Regions from separate parts of the Homo sapiens genome. Here regions 2, 3 and 4 are each linked to region 1. Evidence: promoter capture Hi-C in 16 types of primary human blood cells and fetal thymus (Javierre and others, 2016). All regions are on one chromosome and are shown on one strand. Each heading gives the region's core, a stretch centred on a gene start or on the middle of the fragment in contact. The rest is flanking DNA. Distances are from core to core; before and after follow the strand shown. Region 1 holds the start of PCED1B (PC-esterase domain containing 1B). Region 2 overlaps RPAP3 (RNA polymerase II associated protein 3). Region 3 overlaps RPAP3 (RNA polymerase II associated protein 3). Region 4 has its middle 100 kb from the start of RPAP3.

What was found. Contacts are between HindIII fragments. The CHiCAGO score rates a contact against its expected background, and 5 or more counts as called.
Region 2: a fragment that was not itself captured here is called in contact with the fragment with the promoter of PCED1B in region 1 in 7 of 17 cell types (activated CD4 T cells, M0 macrophages, total CD4 T cells and 4 more); the score reaches 7.6 in activated CD4 T cells.
Region 3: a fragment that was not itself captured here is called in contact with the fragment with the promoter of PCED1B in region 1 in 1 of 17 cell types (activated CD4 T cells); the score reaches 5.1 in activated CD4 T cells.
Region 4: a contact is called between a fragment that was not itself captured here and the fragment with the promoter of PCED1B in region 1, in 1 of 17 cell types (M1 macrophages). The highest score is 5.9, in M1 macrophages.

What each region holds. Positions count from the first base shown.
Region 1 is chr12:47,078,008-47,081,455 of GRCh38, reverse strand. It overlaps PCED1B (PC-esterase domain containing 1B), which reads right to left and starts at 1,835. Exons shown (of 4, transcript NM_138371.3): 1 at 1,731-1,835. AMIGO2 (adhesion molecule with Ig like domain 2) reads left to right here and starts at 1,497. Exons shown (of 3, transcript NM_001370299.1): 1 at 1,497-1,994; 2 at 2,208-2,314; 3 at 2,391-3,448. The coding sequence starts at 2,454. The HindIII fragment of the contact is 11,510 bases long and covers 1-3,448 here.
Region 2 is chr12:47,681,382-47,684,829 of GRCh38, reverse strand. It overlaps RPAP3 (RNA polymerase II associated protein 3), which reads left to right. Exons shown (of 17, transcript NM_024604.3): 10 at 3,013-3,134. Among named protein-coding and RNA genes, the nearest start is that of RPAP3, 23 kb to the left of the region's middle. The HindIII fragment of the contact is 2,548 bases long and covers 383-2,930 here.
Region 3 is chr12:47,658,681-47,662,128 of GRCh38, reverse strand. RPAP3 (RNA polymerase II associated protein 3) reads left to right here. Exons shown (of 17, transcript NM_024604.3): 17 at 1-880. Among named protein-coding and RNA genes, the nearest start is that of RPAP3, 46 kb to the left of the region's middle. The HindIII fragment of the contact is 1,767 bases long and covers 950-2,716 here.
Region 4 is chr12:47,599,541-47,602,988 of GRCh38, reverse strand. No RefSeq gene overlaps it. Among named protein-coding and RNA genes, the nearest start is that of RPAP3, 100 kb to the left of the region's middle. The HindIII fragment of the contact is 1,428 bases long and covers 1,217-2,644 here.

The sequences.
Region 1 (3,448 bases), core at 586-3,085:
GTGCTAGCCCGGCTTTATTCCACAAACAATTCTATTTAAATTAGGTGTTGGTCTAACAAATCTGCCTGACCACAGCAATGACTCACGGACCATGTAGGAAACAACTTTCACTAAATTCAAGATTGCTCAAGTGAAAAGGTGCGCGGGGGAGGGGAGGAAGAGTTGGTTGTCCTCATCATTTTTATTTTTAAGTAATATTACAAGTTATCTATCCTGCCCCAACTGTTTCCTCAATTTGGTTGCTTTTCATTCCACTGTGGTTGGCATCTTTTGTCAAGGCAGTAATTTATTTCTTTTAATCCGGATATAATGGCCAAATGGGCGATCTGACTCACTCAAATCCCATCGTTAAAACTTATCTTGGAATTAAACAAAAATGGATTTTTAATCGTAGAGCTCATCAGCCTCATAGTCTCCACCTCATTTCTGAATGGCCTTGTTCGGCTTGCACCTTCTGTGCTTGCTGAACCAAAGCGCGCTGGTCGGCCGCGGCATCTCCGGAAGGGATGAAGAGCCTCCGCGCACACGCCCCTTACTTCCCTGTCCCGCACGCGCCACGAGCACGCTTGCAAAAGACGGGGAGGTGGCGGGGACAGAGACAGAGGAAATGAGAGAGAGAGAACGAAAGAGAAAGGAGAGAGAGGGAGAGAGAGAGGGAGAGAGAAGAGGGGAAGGAGAAGAGAGAAAAAAGAAAAAAAGGTCTGCTCTGGGATTATTATTATTATTTGGGTTAATACTCTTATCTTTGCATTCCAGCCGGAAGGTCGGCTCCAAGCCTTCTTTCCTGCCCTCCTCCTTCTTGAATTGGACACCATCCCTGTTGCCGCCTCCTGAGTCAGGAAAGGGATAGAACTTTCCCAGGGAGGTGAGGGGTGTCCCCGTGGCGATTTCCCGGTTACTTCCTCCCAGCAGATATCCCTGTGGAGAGGAAACGTTCCCGACTTCCCTCCCCGCGACCTCCTCCCTAGAAACGAGCGGAGACGTCAGGCTGCTTCTGGGTTTATTTTGTAAACCCAGACAGTCAACTGCACTTGGCGCAGGCAAAGCCTCCTTGGCCCTTGCCCCAAAGCAAAGCTCTAAGAGGTCCGGGGATTCCTTGGCCTGGGTGGGGAGAGAGACGTGACCTGTGCGGCCGCCGCGAAGTGGGTCTCCAAGGGTGAGACCCCTCCCTCGGTGGCTGGGCGTGTCCCCTTTAGCCTTCCTGGACCCCATTACCGCCCGGCTTGGAGCTGGACGAAGGGACGTAATTGGTAGGCGAGTGGGTTGGGCATCTTGACTCAAGGACCAGAGTCTGGGCCTCTGGTGTGGACCCCTGCCCCCTCCCCGCTCTGCGCGGCCGTTCTAGAGGTCCGGGTGGGAGCTGGAGGAGGAAAGCGGGAGGAGGCGGCGAGGCCGCGGGGCGGTATGAGGGGGCGCCGGCCGCCTCTCGGATTGGCTGCGCCGCCGCCCCCTCCGCATCGCGCGCCCCCCACCACGCGCCCAGCCTGCTCCCTCCCGCAGGCTCCGAGCTGCTGCCCGCAGGAGGCAGGACGCGCAGGGGTGGGACCGGCGCCCCAGCCCGTCTCCCGGCCCCGGGCGCGCGGGAACCCCGGGTCCTGCAGCCTCCCGAGTGCGGAGAGGCGGGGCCGCCCGCTGCCGCCCGGCTGCCTGCGCCCCCTCCCGCGGCCCCGGCTCTGGGAGCGGGGCGCCCCGCGCGCGGGCACACGGCGGCCAGAGCGCCGAGGCGGTACCTTCAGCCTGCAATGAGAGGAACCCGGGAGAGCCCCCGGGAGCCAGCGAAGAGCTTGGCTGCTGCGTCCAGGGCTGCTGCTGCCGCCGCGGCTGCTTGAAACTCCTCAAAGTTGAGAGCCGGCTAGAGGGTGCCGCCCGCCGGGAGCCGGAGGGAAAGGAAGTCGGAAGGTGCAAGAGTGACAGACACGGACAGACGGACGCGCAGACCTTCGGAAGGCACTGCGTAGGCAGCCTCCCCGGAGCCCACGAGGCTCCCCAGCACCGTGAGTTTTTTCCTGGATGGGTGGTTGCTAAGTATTTCCGTTTAATTGTTTGTAGCGTACGTTTGCGTATAGTTGTGTCTGTTGGAGGGAGTTTAAAACAACAACAACAACAACAACAACGCAGGATGCACCTTAGGAAAAAATTGAGTTTCTGATGGTGGGTGAGACGGTGGGTTGTATGGAGAGAATGTGACTGTACATTTTTATAAGCAGGACTAACCCAGGAAAGAGGAAAAAATACATTTAACAGTGAAGAGGCAACACAGAGCTCCCTATTGTGAAATAAAACCCATTTCAAAAGTTATTGGAAAGAAAGTAAGGTATGGCTCTTATGGGTTAACTAGTGGTAGTCAGTTTCTGCTTTTTACTCCCTCTGAATTATTAATTGTTTGCCAGGTTCACTGGTGGGAGGCTGAGCCGGTGGAAAAGACACCGGGAAGAGACTCAGAGGCGACCATAATGTCGTTACGTGTACACACTCTGCCCACCCTGCTTGGAGCCGTCGTCAGACCGGGCTGCAGGGAGCTGCTGTGTTTGCTGATGATCACAGTGACTGTGGGCCCTGGTGCCTCTGGGGTGTGCCCCACCGCTTGCATCTGTGCCACTGACATCGTCAGCTGCACCAACAAAAACCTGTCCAAGGTGCCTGGGAACCTTTTCAGACTGATTAAGAGACTGGACCTGAGTTATAACAGAATTGGGCTTCTGGATTCTGAGTGGATTCCAGTATCGTTTGCAAAGCTGAACACCCTAATTCTTCGTCATAACAACATCACCAGCATTTCCACGGGCAGTTTTTCCACAACTCCAAATTTGAAGTGTCTTGACTTATCGTCCAATAAGCTGAAGACGGTGAAAAATGCTGTATTCCAAGAGTTGAAGGTTCTGGAAGTGCTTCTGCTTTACAACAATCACATATCCTATCTCGATCCTTCAGCGTTTGGAGGGCTCTCCCAGTTGCAGAAACTCTACTTAAGTGGAAATTTTCTCACACAGTTTCCGATGGATTTGTATGTTGGAAGGTTCAAGCTGGCAGAACTGATGTTTTTAGATGTTTCTTATAACCGAATTCCTTCCATGCCAATGCACCACATAAATTTAGTGCCAGGAAAACAGCTGAGAGGCATCTACCTTCATGGAAACCCATTTGTCTGTGACTGTTCCCTGTACTCCTTGCTGGTCTTTTGGTATCGTAGGCACTTTAGCTCAGTGATGGATTTTAAGAACGATTACACCTGTCGCCTGTGGTCTGACTCCAGGCACTCGCGTCAGGTACTTCTGCTCCAGGATAGCTTTATGAATTGCTCTGACAGCATCATCAATGGTTCCTTTCGTGCGCTTGGCTTTATTCATGAGGCTCAGGTCGGGGAAAGACTGATGGTCCACTGTGACAGCAAGACAGGTAATGCAAATACGGATTTCATCTGGGTGGGTCCAGATAACAGACTGCTAGA
Region 2 (3,448 bases), core at 407-2,906, 600 kb before region 1:
CTCTTGCTCACTTATGAAAATTTTGATTTTTGCTATCGAAGAATTGTGCATTGGTTTAAAAATTGTAAAGCCTGAGTTCGTTGGTTTGACTAATGCTAAGAGTAATGCCTTCTTACAGGTGAGAGATTATATATGCATTTATAAGATATCTAATTTATTGTATCAGTTTTATTTCTTTAGTTTATAATCGTATTAGTGGAATATATTATACCAAGTTAGCAGAGTATATTTTAAATTAAAAGAACTTATGACTCTTACTTGTATCTTTTCCTAGTGTATCTTTTAGATTCACAGTTAATATCAGAATTTTTTTCTGTACATGGAGACTGTTGTTATGTATTACGGACTATGTGAGGAACATAAAAAAGCAACATTTCAAGCTTAGACTACTCCTAGTTTAGGTAACCATCCTATAGCTTGAGGTTCTATAAACTGTGTCAAATTAGAGCTAATTAGAACCAGCAGTATAGTCAGTCTTACCTACCAGTGTGCGGGGTAGCAGTAGGGAGTAAGAAGAAATTCACCTAGTTAGGCCAACCGGGATTCCTAGAGAATGTGCTTTCTGGAGGTGATAGTCTAAATTAGTAGTTTGCATTGGGAGATGAGCAAGACATCCTTGAGTTACAATAATGGAGTGCCTGTGAGCTGGCAAATTGTGGAATGTAGGCTGGTAGATGGTTAGCTTCAGAAAGGCTGAAGAAATAAGAAGATAATCAGAAATAAGGACAGAAGTTTGGGCCAACATTGTAGTCCTTGAAGAGGACTGACCAAGAACAAATCTGAGTCCTATTCTTAGAGGGAGTAAAGCATAGATTTAGAGATAGGATAAGAAGAAAATAACCCAGTAGTATTAGATATTAGATTTGGGAAACAGGGTTGAGAGTTGGTCACAAAAATAAGGTAGAATCTTGGTTGCTGGAACTGGAACCAGACTAAGACTTGATTTAGTAGAGGGTGGTTCACTTAATGGTGATTAGGGGCGGCATTTACACTAGAGCCAGAGTAGACCTAGGGCAAGTGGACCTGACTGAAAATCAGAAGGAATCAGGGCTAAGGAGCTAGGCAGAGATGATAGTTTTTCGCACTCACCATTTTTATTCTATTTTTGATTAGTTTGTCTTTTTCTCCAACCACCTAAAAGATGTTTGTTGATTGGATTTTTCTAAATTCACTTTACAAATGGAGTGCACAGGAGACGTGTAATAATTTTAAAGGACTTAGGTGAGTCTATTTTCAAAGAATAATCGTCTACCTCTGTGGCAACTTCAGACTTTTAGAAAAATTGTTGGGTTTTCTTCAGCTGTACAGTAGAACATGCAATTAAATATGCAATTAAATATACAATTAAAATGATTTCCTAAACATTTATATTCTAAATTTTCTTTGAATTTGGGTGTTGGAAATTTTTTGATTTACTTATTCAGCAAATATTTATTGTGCTAAAATGTATCAGGTGTTCTGTGAGGCACTGTGGAAGGTATTAAGTATACAAATATTAAATGTATAGTTGTTTTTAAGAAACCCGAAATTTGCAGGGAGTGACAGAAAAGGAGACCAATATTTGTGAAAATACGCTAAGATAGCGCTATGAAGGACACGTGCTATAGGAGTTCAGAGTGGGAAGAATACTGGCATAGACTGAGTCCAGGCAGGGGAATTCCTGGAAAGCATCTTGAAATTGTTTAGGAGTAGTATGAGTTAGTGAGGTGAAAAAACAGGAAACAGGTCAAGTGTTCTAGTGCAGGTTCAAAGACGTGGGAGTAGGCAGGTTGATGGTACCTCAACCTGGAAAGGGTGAGTGGTTCGTATTATGGCTGTTATTGCAGGGGACAGTGGCAGAGAGAAGGCCAGATACTCAGGCAGGCCCCTGACTTTGCGCTCCAAAGGAATTGGACTTTATCTTGAAAAGTATGGGGGCCATGCAGGTATCTTGAATGATATAATCAGGCAAGTAGAAAATAACATTGATAAGGGCATGAACACAGATATATTCTTTATCTCTTGCTGGAAAGTGAGTTAAATAAATCAGAGATGTTTAAGTTCATTCGAAATTCTGATTTTTTTCATATGAGATTTTGTTTTGAGGGCAAGATGACATCCATTTAGGCCTTGGGGAGAATGCAATTACAGGAGTGTTTTTTTTTTTTTTAATATTCTTATGAAACTTTTCAAACTTATACAAAAGTAGTATAATAAACTCCATGTGTCCATCATCTAGTTCTAACAAGCCATACTTTTTTTGGTCATATTTGTTTCAGCATTTTCCCCCCGAATTATTGTAAAGCAAATCATAAACATTATGACGTTTATTGCTAAAGAAAGGATATTTTATACATAACCACAACCATTAGCACTCCTAAGAAATTAACAATAATTCATTAATGTCCTATTAATATATGGGAATGTCTGAAGTTTTTTTGTTATTGGGTTTTTTTGGTGGAGGGGGTTGAGCTCTTCTTAAGCACCTTGTTGTTGTAGAGCAGTAATGAGTAAGTCTGTAAGTCTGAATTGATTGCTGGTTGCATGGCTGAGTAGAATTTATGCAAAGTATTAGATGATATGCTATCACATTCGTACCAAGTTCTCATTTTTTTGTTTTTCTATGAGTATGGGAGGTTTACTGTGGGTAAATGTTAATAAAGTTTTATTAGAAAACTAATGCCAGTCAAAATTCTAATGTAATACCTGTGCATATTGAGACTTGGAGAAGAGGTAGGCAGAGAAGCAGTGGCATTCTTTTGTCTGCCCTAGTCATATTTTTGCATTATTATTTCATCGCTCCAGCAGACTCTCCTAACATTCCCTCAATCTGGTACCTTCTCCCTCCTCACCAAATGATTCCAGGATTTGGTGAGAATAAAAAATTTATAAAATAGTTCTCCACTTCAAACACAGATTTAGAAGTTAGTGATTGAAATTATATACAAGCTTTTTAAATTAGAAACTTAGTTTATATGACATTTTTCCATAAGCTGCCTTTTTTCCAGTCAGTAATTTTATCATGTTCAATAGATATGAAGAAGCTGAAAAAGACTGCACACAAGCCATTTTATTAGATGGCTCATATTCTAAAGCTTTTGCCAGAAGAGGAACTGCAAGAACATTTTTGGGAAAGCTAAATGAGGCAAAACAAGGTAAGACTTTATAACAGCTGGCACTCAGTCATCCTGATGAGTGCCCAAGTTAAAGAAGCAGAGATTCATGTAGCTTACCCATGGTTCAAAGATACTGAACTTAGGGAATTATGTTTTCTTTCCACAGTTTAGATCACGAATAGATTTGGAGGAATGCAGCTTCCGCAATGTACCAGATTATCTTTTTGTTTAGTAGCATTCTGGCTAATTTTGTTTAGTACATTCTGGCTAATTGCCAGTCAATATTAATGAAAAATTTTAATTATACATGAGAATGGAAAACGATAAAAAGACCAGAATGGAAAGGAAGGGAA
Region 3 (3,448 bases), core at 584-3,083, 580 kb before region 1:
GGCCCTTGTAAAAGAGGCCCCAGAGAGCTTGTTCACCAATTACACCATGTAAGGACACATAAGAAGGCACCATCTACGAACAAGAAGGTGGGCCTTCACCAGACACCAGAGACCAGAATCTACTGGCATCTTCATCTTGGACTCCCCATCCTCCAGAACTGTAAGAAATAAATTTCTGTTTTTATTAATGTAAGCTACCCAGTTTGATATTTTATTATAGCAACCCGAATGGACTACGGTATGATCCTTTGAAGAAACTTACAAGGTAGTCAGGGCAGGTAATGTTATTGTCATTCTTAACATAAGAAAAGGAGGCTCAGAGGGTTAATGTTCTCTGCATGATTATAGAGCTAAAAATTGGCCAAAACAGTTCAGAACGTGCTGTCTTCTCTTAATGTAGAGCTATTTGAACTACTTCCAGCTGCAGTTTTTATGTTGTGTTACCTGTGTAGAGACTGTTAACTGAAGAAGTACAGATCACAAGATTTACTATAGAATTTGAATTTTAAAAAATTTCTGATGTTAGCCTGATTTCTCCCCAGAGACATTTTCATGTAGTGATTTAAGACCAGAGGCTCTGGATTCAGACTTCTTGAGTTTGAATTCTGGCTCCATCTGGCTTTAGGGCCTTGGACAAGTTACTTTTCTATTCTTTGTTTTTGAAATCTGTAGAATGGGTATAAGTGAGATTGAATGAATGCACACATTTTGTTTTTGGAGCAGGGCTGGATGTATAGTAAGCTACTGTTACTATTATTATTACAATTACCAACATTTCCTAAAAGTGATTAGAATAAAGAACAGTCTTTAGGGGCTGTCATATTGTTGCCTTATTGCAAAATAGCATAGTGGTTAATAAAGTCATTTTTGGGTCAAATAACCTGCGTATACAACCTATTGCACTCAACTAGCTTGTGAATTTGGACATACTGCTTAGCACCTCTAAGCTTCCGTTTCCTCTCATATAAAATAGAATATTAGTAAATGCCTACCTCAAAGATTTTTAGAAAGGCTAATACTTATAAGTATTAGCACATTAATGCCTGTCACATAGTGCTCAGTCATTTTTATTAATAATAGTAATATTATTGCCTTAAAGGTATAAAAGCAGTATTTTCCCAAGTGGTTTCTTTCTGGAAATGTAGTTATTTACTGTTAATTGTATCTTTTGACTTGATAGCAACATTTACATCATAATTATTCTTGAATTGTTGGCAGAAGCACCATGCCCGTCATTTATTGGCTGCCTCCGACTCTGGTTTTAGTTACACTCAATTTAATAAATTGATGGGGCATATCCAAGTCCTCACCATTTTAACAATTTGTGCTAACGCATTTGAAAAAAATTTTACTTCCAACCTCTAAATCCATTATCTCTGTTAACAGGAGGCATTTCTGAACACAGTACCAAGGCTCATTTTACCTTTTTACAATGCTTTCTTAATGTTTGACCTTTATCAGAGTTATGTTTAAAGAAACATTAAAAATTTAATGTTAATGAAACTTGTTTGATTCATTCATTTAATTAATTTAACAAATATTTGTTGAATCTACATATAATGCCAGGCACTGCTAGGCACTGAAAATACAAAAATGAACAAAGTAAACATGGATTCTTTCCTCACAAAACTTACAACGAAGTGGGAGGTGGAATGGGATGGTGGGGATACAAATAAAGAGGTACAGCGTAATAAATGCTAAACAGGTAATACTAAGGGATCATGGGAAATACCAGGAATAGCAGATGCAAAAGACAAGACAAGTTTGAGAAAACTTAAGTTTAATTTTTAGCACAGAGTGGGAACTGGATTGTGGTAAGAAATGAGGCTGGTGAAGACAGAAGGGTTGAGATTCTAGAGGACATTTGAACTTCATCCTGAGGGTACTGTGGAACTAGTGATAGTTTATATAGGAGGGTGATTCTGAAATTTGTATTTTATAAAATTTACTTTGGCTACTATGGGAAGAACAGTTGCCTGGGGACATTAGAGACAGGGGAACTTGTCAGAGGACTTGGGGTACCTAAGGCAAGAGATTATGGTATCCTGAACAAGAGTACTAGCCGTGAGGATGGAGAGAAGTGACCAGAATGGAGAAATATTTGGGAAGTAGAATGGGCAAGATTTGGCAGTAGATTCAGGGCCCCCACATTCAGGGCTTAACTCCAAGGAGCACCCTTTACATTGTGGTCTGCGTGAATGGCATCCCTGGAACATAATGTGAATGCTTCCTAACTTGTACAATTTGGTGATCCTGTGTGGGCTGGGAAGCAAGTTGAGAAGCAGAAGGAAGCATTAATGGTCATGCCCAGATTTTTTTCCCCTAGGGCAGTGCTTTCATTCACTAAAATATAAACCACAGCGGGTGACACCATATGTGGAACTGGAAGGTTTGGTTGAGTGGCTGAGAGAAAGGTCCAATTTGGGATCTGTTGGATTTGTGATCCCTTTGGTCATTGAAATAGATTAGGGATGGTGATTTGGGTTTGGACATTAAAAAGCATTTAGGTGAAGTCTCAGGATTAGATGAGATTACTTGGAAGTATAGAATCAGGAGAAAAGGGTGACTGGGTAAGTGGAACAGAACTAACAACCACATTTAACAGATTGGAAAAGGAGCACATAAAGCAGACTAGGGAGAGTGGGCACAGAGAGGGTGACGTTGGCAAAAAGCACGTGATGGAATTAAGTTTTTTGTTATTGATAATTTAAAAGCTTTGTCTTCATAGCTAATTATTGGTTCTGTCATGTAAGTTTTTAGGATTGTTGCCAAGTTTGAGAAAATCTCTACCGTGTTTCTTTTGTATTTGAGCCATATGATTCTGGGGTTTATATGAGTATATATTTCTGGTAAGGCAGAACTCCCATTTTGACCAGGCATCCATGAAGCATCCTGTTACAATACATGTCTGAAGACTGAGAAGTATCTCCACAGATTAGCTTTGGGATCCATACATTACAAATCTTGTCCACCACTGCACATGCACTTCTGGGGCTGGTTACTGTCTAATGCATTTATATCATGGTTCAACTTCTGGCCTAAAACTGGAAAAGTTGATGGCATGGACAGTAGTAGGAGTATCGCTAAAATCTTCCTATACTGAGATGGCGAGCAGTAATTCAACCTGGTACAAAAATGACTGCAGACCATGTAAATATATTCTGTAACACTCAGCTACTTCATAGTCTAGATCTCAAAACACTAGGTGCAGGGAAGTTAGAGTAGAAAGGGACAGCAGTCTAGATTGATTGTGGTTAAAATATATTAGTTTTGAAATTTAGTTTGAAAATGTAGTTTGCAAAAACATAGTCATGTAAACACTTCCCTATAGCCCCTCTCAGGGTGGAAGTGGCCTGTACAAGTGAGAGTTCCTGGGGCTTAAGCCTTTGTTAACTTCAGGGTAAATCAGCTGTTTTCTCAGTCCATAACCCTGAGGCCTATGAGTATT
Region 4 (3,448 bases), core at 681-3,180, 520 kb before region 1:
CCCAACATTCTTTATGACAAAACTGGAAATCTAGCTAATGTCTTTGGTCATAGAAGCATGGCTGTTTTCTAAGAAAGAGTTAAAATATTTCTCAGAATAACATAAACCATCCACTGAGAAGGAGACTGTTAGGACTGAGTTTGGTTTCCTAAGGTGCATCATTAGTAAGCAAGTGTTTTGTGTTGAAGACCCTCCCTCCTTAGGGAGAAAAATGGAACCACGGTAGTCAAGGCAGAACATCATACTTAGAACCTTCTGTCAAAAGATTAGGCTCTAAGATGAATGTAATGAAAATTTCAAAGATCAAGTGAGTTGCCAGAGTACAACTCCTTAGAGTATGGAGGGAGGAAAGAAAAACATAGCAGAGTGGCGTCCCATGACAACTCTATTTACTTTAGTCATAGATGCTGCTGCTAAGGCAGGGCTTCAGATTGTAGGGCCTTCCCTGTGAGCAGCACCAGAAAATGTCTCTGTGAAAGGAGCTGGACTCCTACACTTGCTCACTGGCTAAAGAAGGGGATCAGACACTCTGGAGACTGACTCATTTTCTTAGTGAAGCCAACTAAAGCTAGGCAGAGATCAGAAGCTGGAAATAAACAGCCCTTCAAAGTTCATGGCATCCAAGAAAGAAAAATCATTTCCTTTCTGCTGTGTGTGTTTTTACAGAGAAGTGACATGCTAGATTTCAGTATAATTTTTTTTTTTTTTTTTGAGATGGAGTCTCACTCTGTCGCCCAGGCTGGAGTGCAGTAGCGCAATCTCGGCTCACTGCAACCTCCGCCTCCTGGGTTGATGCCATCTCCTGCCTCAGCCTCCCGAGTAGCTGGGACTACAGGCGTCCGCCACCACACCCGGCTAATTTTTTGTATTTTTGGTAGAGACGGGGTTTCACCGTGTTAGCCAGGATGGTCTTGATCTCCTGACCTCATGATCCGCCCGCCTCGGCCTCCCAAAGTGCTGGGATTACAGGCGTGAGCCACCATGCCCGGCAGATTTCAGTATAAATTTAACACTGGGGTTATTGATCAATTGCTTATTCATTTATTCAAACACATACTTATTGAATATCTATATTGGTATCTGTATTGGCACACACATATTGAGTATGTGCCAGAAACTAGGCTTGATCCTAAGGATTGGAAAATGAATAAGGCGTAGTGTTTTATCTTCCTAGGTGCAAAACCCCAGTAAGTATAATTATCTAAACAAGTAAGCTTAATATGGCAAGATATGTGCTCATAGAGGTATGTACAAAATGCTAGGGAAATCGTACTAAGCCCAGCTGGATACTGTTGGGGAAGATTTCGTAGAGGAGATAATATTTGAGTATATTAGACTTATCTTCCAATGTCTATCTAAACTCCAGTGAAAACCAATAAACCCAATATTTATTAATTGTGTTCCTTCTTAGCTACCAAAACCATAGAATACAATGAACCAGGTTTCAAACCTGGCACCCATCAGACACTTGTGGGGAGGAAACAACATTTCTGGGGAGTGACAAAATTTCTGTGACCTTCAAACATATCAGAAGACTGTCAACCACACTAACAGTAAAATAAATTTAAATTACCTGTCAGATTGGCAAAAATCTAAACCCATTCTATTTGTGGGGTTGTGGAAATGCAAACTGCTACTCTGCAGGAGAATGTGGCAATATCATAAATTAAAAAATCACCTACTTTTTGACCCAGCAATTCCACTCCTAGAGATGTATTCTAGACATATACCTGAATAAGTACAAAATGACTCATGCACAAAGGTCATTCAGTGTGGCTTTTATTTTTAAATAGGAAAAAATTGGAAATATGTCAAATGAGCATCATTTGAGGGCATGGAGCACTATGCAACCATAAAAGAGAGTGAGGAAGATCTCCACATGTACTCATGTGAAATGTTATCCAGAATATATTGTTACATGTGAAAAAAATTAAAAGGAGGTTGCAGAACATCCTAGGTTTGCATAAGAAGGGAGGAAATAAGAATTTATGTATATTTTTCTTAAATTTGCTCTGCCAATCACTGAAAGGTTAAATCAGAAACTAATAAAAATAGCTAATAAAGCTATCTAAAACTTAAAAAATACCTTTTATTTTAAAATAATCTCAAATTTAAAGAAAAGTTACAAGTCTGGTACAAATACCTCTTTTTCACCATCATTTTGAGTAAATTGCTGAAATGGTGATCCTTCCAACACCAAAATGTTTAATGTGCCTTTTTCGGGGACACAGTATGCTCATTACATCAGGGAATTAACATCAAAACATGACTGCCATCGAATCCCTAGACCCCATCCAGTTTCAGCACTTGTGCCTGTATTGTCCTTTAGTGCAAAAGGATCACGTTGAGCATCACACACTGCATTTAGAGTCCAGTTTCTTTAGTCTTCTAACATCTGGATCAGTTCTTCAGTCTTCACTTTCATGACACTTTGAAGATTTTGAAGATTACAGGCCAGTTATGTTGAAGAGTTTCCTATTTCCTCATGATTACATTTGGGCTGTACATTTTTGGCAGGAATATCACAGAAATGATGTGTGTTCTTATTGCACCTTATCAGGTGGTGCATAATTTTGGGTTGTTCTATTACTGATCATGTTGAGCTTGATCACTTGGAGGAGTCCTCCTCCACTGGAGTTAAGCTTTTTCTCCTTTGTAATTAATATACATTTGCAGGAAGGTGCTTTTACGCCATGTAAATACAGTATCTTGTTCCTCAACAAACTTTTTATTGATTAATTAATGAATATCATGATTTCCTATTGTATTCATGGGTTATAATGTCACTATCTGATCTAGTTTGGATACTTGTCCCCACCCAAATCTCATGTTGAACTGTAATCCCCAGTGTTGGAGGTGGGGCCTGGCGGGAGGTGTTTGGGCCATGGGAGTGGATTCCTCATGAATGGCTTGGACCATCCCCTTGGTGATAAGTGAGCTCTCACTCTCAGTTCACGTGGGATCTGGTCATTTAAAAGTGTGTGGCATTTCCCCTGCCCATCTTTCACTTGCTTTCATCACCATGGGATATGCCTGTTTGTCCTTCACCTTCCACCAGGATTGAAAGCTCCCTGAGGATTCACCAAAGGCTGAGCAGATGCCAGCACCATGTATCTTGTGATATTAGATAGAAAGCAGAGGAATCAGGCTAAACTCTGTTTTTGAAATATGTGCATATATATAGAAATAAATGTAGATGTAAATTTATGTACACACAAACACATATAGATATTCATCTGTCCACTGAGACAGCATGAGTGCAGTGACACCCCAATAGTAATGAGCATACCTATCACTTAAATCTTAGTTTCTAAACACCATTCTCCACTAAAAGGAACCAGGTGTCTTTGTAGAAATGACTGATTCCAGGGCTAAGGCAGAGGAAGTACAGCATTAGTTTAGAGCATCTTGTACCAAAAAAATAAGGAAGTACTCCAAGAATAATGAA